2 separate regions of the Homo sapiens genome follow, and region 1 is linked to region 2. The links are contacts of gene promoters, found by promoter capture Hi-C in human tissues and cell types (Jung and others, 2019). All regions are on one chromosome and are shown on one strand. The core of a region is centred on a gene start or on the middle of the fragment in contact, and the rest is flanking DNA. Distances in the headings are between cores, read along the strand shown.

What was found. Contacts are between HindIII fragments. The study calls those that stand out against the background at their distance.
Region 1: a contact is called between a fragment that was not itself captured here and the fragment with the promoter of VPS33B in region 2, in 1 of the 25 tissues and cell types used here (liver).

Annotation. Positions count from the first base shown.
Region 1 is chr15:91,288,431-91,294,000 of GRCh38, reverse strand. It overlaps SV2B (synaptic vesicle glycoprotein 2B), which reads right to left. Exons shown (of 13, transcript NM_001323032.3): 12 at 4,321-4,480; 13 at 1-1,632. The coding sequence ends at 1,449. Among named protein-coding and RNA genes, the nearest start is that of CRAT37, 170 kb to the left of the region's middle. RefSeq lists an enhancer at 1,988-2,282. The HindIII fragment of the contact is 6,522 bases long and covers 1-5,570 here.
Region 2 is chr15:91,021,025-91,026,197 of GRCh38, reverse strand. It overlaps VPS33B (VPS33B late endosome and lysosome associated), which reads left to right and starts at 3,604. Exons shown (of 23, transcript NM_018668.5): 1 at 3,604-4,044. The coding sequence starts at 3,949. VPS33B-DT (VPS33B divergent transcript) reads right to left here and starts at 3,576. Exons shown (of 4, transcript NR_110104.1): 1 at 3,458-3,576; 2 at 2,227-2,885. RefSeq lists enhancers at 3,640-4,049, 3,904-4,520. The HindIII fragment of the contact is 30,515 bases long and covers 1-5,173 here.

The DNA of each region.
Region 1 (5,570 bases), core at 1,085-3,584, 270 kb before region 2:
AGTTCTGATGTTTTTCCTCTTCCATGCAGTCAAGACTTCAGTCTATTGCTGACCTTCATCAGAGAGGTTTGTCCTAAGCTCCTCCCCCAACCCACACCCCTGTTTATGTTCAAAGCTGGACTTCAGGAAACAGTTCTCTTAAGCACTGAAGAAAAACATATTTGGCATCCACTACACTCCCTAACTCCCACTCCAATGGACTCTGTTTCAAAAGCTCTGGACACATAGCATAGATTTCTCATGAGACCTGACCATCCTAACAAATATGGATTGCATTTGCATTTTACCACTAGAACAAACAAAAAGTATTTACATTTGGAAGAACTGTGGCTACACTTCCCCATCCTTCCCTCAGTCCCCATGTTGTTTGATTCTTGCCTGCAAAGAGTACCAGAGGCCACTGAACACATCTCACATTGTTTTTGGGTAGTGGCAAAGTAAAATGCCAGCACTGAAGATGGTGAGCTTGAGTTTCACAAGTCATCTGTGTAAGGGAGAGAAGTAACTACTCACTACACCTGCACAAAGAAAAGTGCCTGGATTAAGCAGACTGCACAATGTGAGTTTGTTAATTCATCCTCCCAACAGAAAGTTAAATGGCTGTAAGAAATTGTGCTTGCATTTCATTTGATCAGACCTCATTTCCTGGGACCTCAAACACCAAGTTCTCCCAAAATATGGCTAAAATGCTGGCAATATTTGCAGATACCAGTTGTGGAAATTAAACCCAAATAAAGTTATATACAAACTTAGTTTACAGAATAACTATCCCATTCCGTTTCTTTGAATAGAGCAAAACAGAAATAAATATCCTTCTTAAATGTATTACCTAATTATCATGGAAAGCCTAGGAGACATAGGAGAAAAGTAGATCTCTATAGATGTTGCTCAAATACTTGGCTTTCTAGATCAGAGTATCCTCAATGCTACTATGTCAATTTTCGAGTGGAAAATATGATAGGTGATACTTTTAAATGCAAAAATATATACTTCAAGCCCAATCTTCATATAATGACTCTAACTTCCAGCCAAGTTGATTTGTTAAGTTGTTGGGCTCCAAGGAGCTTTCTGGAGGAACCTGGGTGTTTCTGACCCTCTAATTCCTTTTCAAACGCAAGTTAAGTCCTTGCACTTGACTTAGAGAAATGCTTGCTCCTCGCATAGTGTGTGCACTCACTGGAGAATCCTCTCCCTGCCTTGGACTGGGAAGACTTGAAGTTAAACACGCAGCTCTGTGATTCTAAGGGTGGCTCAGGGCACCCCCAAATCAGTCACCTGAGTTACAAACATATTGACAGCTGAAGTGGGTCCTAAACTAGGGGTCACAAAGTCAACTTCTCCTCCCGTGCTATCCAAGGTGTCCTCCGGACCGTGATAGGCAGGAAGTGTGGATGCATTTCAGTGTCCTGGACAAGATTCTCTCGACCTTTCCTTTTCCCATAGGTTGTTCACATCAGGACCTGTTCTCGAGTCTCTGGCAGTCGAAGGGCAATCAGGCCACCCCCAACCAGAGAAGCAGCAGCCAGAAGGATGGGGACCACTTTGGTTATCCCAACAAAAGAAGCAAAGATGGTGTTTCCCAGGATGGCGCCAAATTTGCATAATCCATTGAGAATGCCGAAGGCTGTTGCTCTGTAAAAGAGGAATGGAAATAATTCTGACATTCTGAACCACATTAGATGAACAGGACTGGGCTCTTTCTTTTCCTTATTGCAGGGGGAAGAGGGTGCAAGGGAGTTTTTTTTCCTAAATATAAAAATAACACATTCTCATTGTAGTCAAATTTGGAAATACAGAATAATATAAAGATGCATGGATATCTAACCTCTTCACCGAGACACAATCACCTCTATTAACATTTTGAAGTATTTTCTTCAAGTGTTTTTCTTTTTTGTTTTTTTTTCAAAGATATCTATTTAAAACATTTTTATAGGTACTACATGCTTACTATGGAAATCTTGAAAGGATGAAGAAGTATACAAAGCAGAAAGTGTAAGTGTTCCCCCTTTTAACACTCTCAACCCTCCTGAAGCAGAGACTGCCAGTTGCCCACAAACAGCATTTCCCCAAATGTAGGACTACATTTCCCAGACTGATTTGCTGCTGAGCATGGCCATGTGACTTAGTTTTGGCCAATGGGATGTAAGTGCAAGTGGCAGCAGTTCCCAAGAAGCTTCCGTAAGAGACGTTGCGGGTGGGCCTTTTGCTCTGTTCCCCTTCATTCTTTTCCTTCTATCCTGCTTCATGATGGAACACAGATGGTTTCATTTTGGACCATGATGAGTCCATGCAAGGAAAAACAATGAGATAGAAAGAGCCTGCACCACCCACTCTAGACTTTTTCAGGAAAGAAAAATGCAATGCTTAACCTTCTTAAGACCACAGTTACCTGAGGTTGCTGTCAGCAACAGCAAAACCTAATCCTAATTATGATCTTTCAATCACACTTTCCAGTGAGAACTATTACTAATCATTTATTCTTTCATGACCCCATCTGTATGCAGAGGCAATATTCCCAATGCTACCTCTCCCCAACTGAAATAAAGCGTTTCTTTCTCATACCACAAGTTTATTAAGAGTGTGGGTATATTTTTGTTCTTAAAACTCTTCTTTCATTTTTGTCTATAACTGTACCACACTGTAGCTTTATATTCATCAACCCAGTCTTTTTTGTTTGTCTTAGTATCTTTGTTTTTGTATTTTCTTGGATCTTTTAACATATGTCCTTTTTTAAATAAACTTTTTTCAAGTTCCCAGAGGGGAAAAAAAACTTGTTGAATTTTGAATGAATTATTTTATGTTAGAAAAAAAACTAAATAAAAATTGACGTTTTTGTAAGATTGAATCTTCTTATCCAAAATTAGGTATATCTTGTCTTTTAAATATATATATTTATATATAATAATGTATACTAATTATATGTTATTAATTATATGTATTATCATAATTATATATAAATATATAATCCATAAATATATACATTTTCTGAGACAGGGTCTGTCTCTGTCACCCAGGTTGGTGTGCAGTGTTGTGATCCTAGCTCACTGTAACCCTGAAACCCCGGGGCTCTCGCAGCTCTCCCCCTCAGCCTCCTGAGCAGCTAGGACTACAGGCACATGCCACTATGCCTGGCTAATTGTCTAATATATTCTGTAGAGATAGGGGTCTCACTGTATTGCCCAGGCTGATCTTGAACTCCAGCCTTCAAGCAATCCTTTTGCCTCGGCCTCCCAAATCACTGAGTTGGCATATATTTATCTTCTCTTATGTGTCTTTTTTTATATCTCTTAGTAAAGCTTTATGGTTTTCTTCATTTGAGTGTTTCACTTGTCAAGTTGATCCCTAATTATTTTATGACGTCTGCCATTATTAAATGGATATCAATTGCATCTTTAACTTTTTCGATATATTTTAAAACCTATACATAATTTCGTTTTATTACTGACCACCTGACCACATTGTCTTTTTGTCTATAGTGGTCTCATAAGTTAATTCTCTTAGGATTCCTAGATGTAAAATCACATCATATTCAAATAATAATCATTTGTCCTCCTGTTATTTTGTGTAAAACTTAGCAGTTCTTTGATTCAAATGAGAGGGGCTCCAAATATGACACGTTGTGCTCTTCCTTAGTTATCTATATCCCAATACCTCTGTCGCCAATTTTGGAAATATCATTAAGGTTTTTGCAGAATTTCATTTACCCACCTTCCTTACCTCTTCACATTCCTTTTTGACCACAGGGCCTCTTATCTTCTCCTTTAAACTTTACAATTCCCCTCCACGAAGAAAAACAATTACTAAGTAATGGCCTTGATCCTATGCCTTTAAACAAGGCCTCTTCCCATATACGACCTGTGCAAAATAAAAGTAACCCCTGGGCCTCCCTGCCACATTCTCTGCAGATTCCCTGGACTTCATGCTGCCTCCCGACCTTTATTTCTCTCCTTGCCCCCACCCTGTGCTATTCCAGCTCTTCACTTTTTTGCCTTATCTCCCCTTGAAGGTCTGTTCTCTCTTGTGGATTACATGACACATATGGTTTTACCAACTTTTCACTCTTATTTCCTTCTCCTGGACATAGTTTGCTCCCATCCTTTGCTTCTTGCCATCTTTCCCACCCTATCCAAGCCCTAGCCTGCCAACTTTCAGGTCTATGCCATCCACCATGCAGGAGAAGCTCAACATAAAAGATGTTTGTTTCACGGAACAGCAGAAAGACCACGATGGCCATGCACAGCATGAGATTTAGGGAGCAGGTAGACTTCTGGCCAAAGAAGCCCAAACAAGTCCCTGAGGAAAGCCTGGGGAAGAACTGACCTCTGGTTGGTGGGATACAGCTCCACTGTGATCACATCCAGAGCATTCCAGGCTGCAATGCTTGTCCCACAGAACAGGCACTGCCAGCCGATCATTGCAGACTCACTGTTGCCAAAAAACAGGAAGAAGCAGCAGACTGCAGAGATTAGCATGGAGCCACCTGCAGAGGGAGTTCAAGGGCAAAAAGAAACATGAGGCCTGTGTCTTGCACATGGCTGTCACTCACAGTTCTTGCCCCATCTCCCACCCTCACTGGTACACCTGAAGCCAAGGCTGCCTGAAGTATTAGGTTCACCCTCCACACAGAGAGAGCACAGCTGGAATCCTCACAAGGCACCCCAGACATGGCATTAGAGCCCTCTGCGTGGGTCAGATCACCAGACTTAGGAAGGATTCTGAAGTCACCACTCTAAGGTGGTGCCCAGCTCAGAGTGACGGGACGGGGCAGATAGGGGCATTTGTTGAGAATCTATTATGTACCAGACATTGTTCTAGGTGCTTGAGCTACATCAGTATTGGCCAAAAAACAAAAACAAAAACCTCAGTCTTGATTTGAAACCAGGATGTCAAAGAGATCTGTGCTTCTTGTTCAATGTAGCAATATTCACAATAGTCAAAATATGGAGTCAACCTAAGTGGCCATCAACAGATGAGTGGATAAAGAAAATGTGGTTTACATACACAATGGGATACTACTCAGACATTAAAAAGAAAGGAATTCTGGCCTATAATCCCAGCACTTTGGGAGGCCAAGGTGGGTGGATCACTTGAGGTCAGGAGTTCGAGACCAGCCTGACCAACATGATAAAACACTGTCTCTACGAAAAAGACAAAAAGTAGCCAGACCCGGTGGTGCACACCTGTAATCCCAGCTACTTGGGAGGCTGAGGCACGAGAATTATTTGAAGCTGGGAGGCAGAGGTTGCAGTGAGCCGAGATGGCGCCACTGTACTCCAGCCTGGGTGACAGAGCAAGACACTGTCAAAAAAAGAAGAAAGAGAAAAAGAAGGAAGGAAGGAAGGAGAGAGAGAGAGAGAAAGAAAGAAGAGAGAAAGAGAGAGAGAGGAAGGAGAAGAAAAGAAAGGAATTCTGCCATTTATGACAACATGGATGAACCTGGAAGGCAGGATGCTAGATACAGTCCATGGGGTAAACCAGGCACAGAAACATCTGCATCATCTCACTTTTCGAGATCTACTACACAGCACGGTGACTACAGTTACTAACAATGTATTGTATATTTCAAAATT
Region 2 (5,173 bases), core at 2,355-4,854:
AAACCCGTCTCTGCTAAAAATATAAAAAATTAGCCAGGCATGGTGGCACACCCCTGTAGTCCCAGCTACTTGGGAGGTTCAGGCAGGAGAACTGCTGGAACCCAGAAGGTGGAGGTTGCAGTGACCCGATATCGCACCACTGCACTCCAGCCTCGGCAACAGAGTCAGACTCCGTCTCAAAAAAAAAAAAAAAAAAAAAAAAAGTTATGAGATTAAAAAGTTATGGGATTTTTAAAAAGTTACATTATGGGATAAAAAATGTTATGAAAAAAGACTGAGGAAAAAAATTGTGGGAAAAAAGTTGTGGAAAAAGTTATGAAAAAAAATTATTCCAAAAAAAGTTTTATGAAAAGCTATGGGATTAAAAAAAAAGTCATGTGATAAAAATTAAATAAAAGCAGGCCACTGTCAGCAAAACCTGGGGAAGTGTCCAATGGGGGAAACAGGTGCAGATGAGATGAAGATTACTGTCATCCAAAAGCAGGGAACTAGGCCCGGCGTGGTGGCTCGCTCCTGTAAGCCCAGAATTTTGGGAGGCCGAGGTGAGCGGATCACCTGAGGTCAGGAGTTCGAAACCAGCCTGGCCAACATGGCAAAACCCTGTCTCTACTAAAAATACAAAAAATTAGCTGGGCATGGTGGTGCGTGCCTGTAGTCCCAGCTACTCAGGAGGCTGAGGCAGCAGAATTGCTTGAACCCGGGAGGTGGAGGTTGTAGTGAGCCCAGATGCACCATTGCACTCCAGCCTGGGTGACAGAGCAAGACTCCATCTCAAAAAAAAAAAAAAAGTTATGGAAAAAACTTAGGAAGAAAAAGTTATGGGATAAAAAAAGTCATGGGATAAAAATAAAAATAAGGCTGGGCGCGGTGGCTCACGCCTGTAAGCCCAGCACTTTGGGAGGCTGAGGCAGGTGGATCACCTGAGGTCAGGATTCGAGACCAGCCTGGCCAACATGGAGAAACCTCATCTCTACCAAAACTACAAAAATTAGCTGGGAGTGCTGGCGCATGCCTGTAACTCCAGCTGCTCCAGAGTCTGAGGCAGGAGAATCGCATGAGCCTGGGAGGCGGAGGTTGCAGTTAGCCAAGACAGCACCACTGCCCTTCAGCCTGGGCAACAGAGTGAGATTCCGGGGGGGAAAAGAAGGAGTGTAATGTAATGCCTCACTCATCTTCTTTAAGCAGCAGTGGGAGTAAATCCCACCACTTTAGGGCAACCTCCATCTCCCACTGCAGCCAAGATTCAATCTAAGGGCGTTAGTGGGAAGAAAGGCTCAGCATAAAATACCATATGAGCTCTCAAAGTCCAGTGTGAGCATAGCGTGTTTTTTGTTTTTTGCTTAACCTTGTATTATACAGCTTTTCAAACATAGAAACGTAGGGAGAAGTTCAGCAAAGTGGCATGTGCCTGTATTCCAGCTATCTGGGGGGCTGAGGTGGGAGGATCACTTGAGCCCAGGAGCTCAAAGCTGCTGTGAGCTATGACTATACCTCTGCACTCCAACCTGGGCAACAGAGCAACACTCCATCTCTAAATAAAGACGTAGAATACTAAAATGCAATAAACCCCCATGTACCCATCAGCTTTAACAATTAACAAATGGCCAATCATTTTTTAATTTTTTTATAGACATGGGGGTCTTACTGTGTTGCCTAGGCTGGTCTTGAACTCCTGGGCTCAAGCAATCCACCTGCCTCGGTCTGGGTTCACAGGCGTGAGCCACCGTGCCTGGCCCAATCTTTTTCCTGAATGTTCCTACATCTCCCCCTGGGTTATTTTAAAGCAAATCCCAAACATATTTTAGTTTTTTTTTTTATTTTTTAAGAGACAGATCGGGCCAGGCATGGCGGCTCATGCCTACAATCCCAGCATTTTGGGAGACTGAGGCGGGAAGATCACCTGAGGTCAGGAGTTCAAGACCAGCCTGACCAACATGGAGAAACTCTGTCTCTACTAAAAATACAAAATTAGCTGGGTGCGTGGCACATGCCTGTAATCCCAGCTACTCAGGAGGCTGCAGCAGGAGAAACGCTTGAACCTGGGAGGTGGAGGTTGCAGTGAGCTGAGATCGTGCCATTGCACTCCAGCCTGAGCAACAAGAGCGAAACTCCATCTCAAAAAAAAAAGAGACAGAACATATCACTGCACTCCAGCCTGGGTGATAGATAAAGCCAGACCTTGTCTCAAAAAAAAAAAAAGAAAAGAAAAAACAAACGGTGTCTCACTCTGTTGCCCAGGCTGGGGTGCTGTAGCATGATCGTAGCGCACTGCAGCCTCAAACTCCTGGGCTCAAGTGATCCTCCTGCCTCAGCCTCCCAAGTATCGAGATTAAAGGTGCCCACCACCATGCCTGGCTATTTTTTATGTGTTGTAGTTGACCAATCTTATCTCAAACTCCTGGCCTCAAGCAACCCCCCGACCCCGACCTGGACCTCCCAAAGTGGTGGGAATTAGAGACATGAACCATTACTCCTGGCCAAATTATTTCACCTGTAAAAACTTCAGTATGTATCTCAAAGAGATAAGGACTTGTTTTTAACAGAAATACAAGCCTGTATGACATAGAAATACAAAAAATAATAATAACATAGAAATACAATACCTGGCCCAACGTTGTGGCTCACGCCTGTAATCCCAGCACTTTGGGAGGCCAAGGCAGGCGGATCACTTGAGGTCAGGAGTTCGAGATCAGCCTGGCCAACATAATGAAACCCCGTCTCTACCAAAAATACAAAAATTAGCCGGGCATGGTGGCACTCGCCTGTAATCCCAGTCTACTCGGGAGACTGAGGCAGGAGAATCTCTTGAACCTGGGGCGGCAGGGGGGTTGTGGCGCGGAGCTTGCAGTGAGCCGAGCTCCTCCACTAGGCAAAAGGGCGAGACTCTGTCAGGAAAAAAAAGAGAAGAAAAGAAATACAATACCCGAAAAGTTTTAGTAATTCCTTAAATCAGTTATCTTTGAATTATTATCCAAAAAAGATCCACACATTGAAACATTTTGTTGATACATCTCTTAAATCTCTTTTATTCTGAAGTGTTTTCCCCTCCCACATTTCCCACTTTGCCATTTTTTTGAAGACGACAGATCATTTGTCCCATATAATTTCCTACATTTTGGATATGGTTGATTTCATACCTTTGGTGTCTTAACATATTCCTGCTAATCTCTATATAGCCTATAAACTGGTAGTTAGATCTTGAGGCTTGATTAGGTTCAATTTTTGGCAATAGGTGATGCTCTGTATTTCCTATGCATCTCACCAGGAAATGATATGATGGTATGATTGATCAGAGTTGAGGTATTGTTAGCTAGCCTGATGCATTCATTATGTCTTTTTTTTTTTTTTTTTTTTTTTTTTTGAGGCAAGGTCTAGCTTTGTTGCCCAGGCTGGGGTGCAGTAGCGCGATCGCAGTTCACTGCAACCTCCGCCTCCCTGACTCGAGCGATTCTCCCACCTCAGCCTCTGGAGTGCTGCGACCCCAGGCGCCGCCACCTAATTAATAGACGCGTTGCCTCCGTTTTTCAAATGTCCCTTTCAGGACGCCGTCCCCTTCCTGGTACGCGAAGCGCTGGGAGCGAAAGGGACTTCCGGGAGATCTAGGAAGTCGCTTCTTTTTCTGGTAGAAGGCGGGGTTCTCCTCGTACGCTGCGGAGTCTCTGCGGGGTGTAGACCGGAATCCTGCTGACGGGCAGAGTGGATCAGGGAGGGAGGGTCGAGACACGGTGGCTGCAGGTCTGAGACAAGGCTGCTCCGAGGTAGTAGCTCTCTTGCCTGGAGGTGGCCATTCATTCCTGGAGTGCTGCTGAGGAGCGAGGGCCCATCTGGGGTCTCTGGAAGTCGGTGCCCAGGCCTGAAGGATAGCCCCCCTTGCGCTTCCCTGGGCTGCGGCCGGCCTTCTCAGAACGAAGGGCGTCCTTCCACCCCGCGGCGCAGGTGACCGCTGCCATGGCTTTTCCCCATCGGCCGGACGCCCCTGAGCTGCCTGACTTCTCCATGCTGAAGAGGCTGGCTCGAGACCAGCTCATCTATCTGCTGGAGCAGGTCAGTGCTTGCCTGACGCCTTTATCGCATCTACAGTTTAGCACTCATTGGATGCACATTTCTTCCTTGCCGTGCCCCTTTGATCTTGTTCTTGGCCCCTGGTATTGTCCTTGGCGCTTCCCCAGCAGGTCCAGAATGAATCCAGGGAGTAGTAAGAGCTGTTTGGAACCTGGCCAGAGAGTTAATGGAAATCACCCCCCAACCCCGCATACAGGCAAGGGAGACACCATTAGTGCCAGGCATCCCTAGGGACGGAAAGATGGTTAAGACATCTTTGCCATTAGGGATCTTACCACTCCAGTAGGAGCTGTATGAAGCACAAATTATCACACACAGGTGGTAAATGAGTGATAGAGCTAGTGTACCCGAAGAGTTCACAGTAAGTGATCATTTCTAGTTGGGGTGATGATCTAGGAGCTTCAAGGAAGTGAGTGTGAGTAATAAGCATATTTTCTTTGGAGACTAAGCATGCTCCAGGCAGATAGATTGGTAGGAGCAAAGTTGGCAAACCAGGGAAAGACAAGGCATGTAAGGGAAGACACCCATCAGCAGTTACACAGTAGCCACTGAAAAAAATTTTTTTTCCATTTGTGGCATGAGACAATACTTGATGATTCTAATAGTGATGTGTGTGGTGGCGTAAATGGGCAACAAGAAGGCCAGTTAGGAGACCGTAGATCAGACAAGAAATAAAGGCCCACACAAAATTGGTAGCAGTGGGAATGAAGGAAAGTGATGGATTTTTAAGTTATGGTGAAAGAAAACTCAAAGACTTACTGATTGGTTATAAATGTTGAAGGAGAAGCAAAAATGAGTGAGATTTTTAACCTGGGTTATTAGGAAAATAATACTGCCACTGTGATTTTAATGGATTACTTGTGTAATCATTTAGTTATTCATTTTATGTCTGTATTCCTCATTAGACTGGAAGGTGGGCAGGGATCATGTTTGTTTTGTTCAACACTACCTAGTGAGTACCTAGCTTAGAGTCAAGCACACACCATGTGCTTAATAAATATTTGTTGTATTAACATTGAATAGAAATGAGAAAAATAATTAGAAAAAGGAACAGGTTTGATGGGGGAAGTTGATTTGTTTGGGTTTGGATGGGGGAAGTTAAGATGCCCGT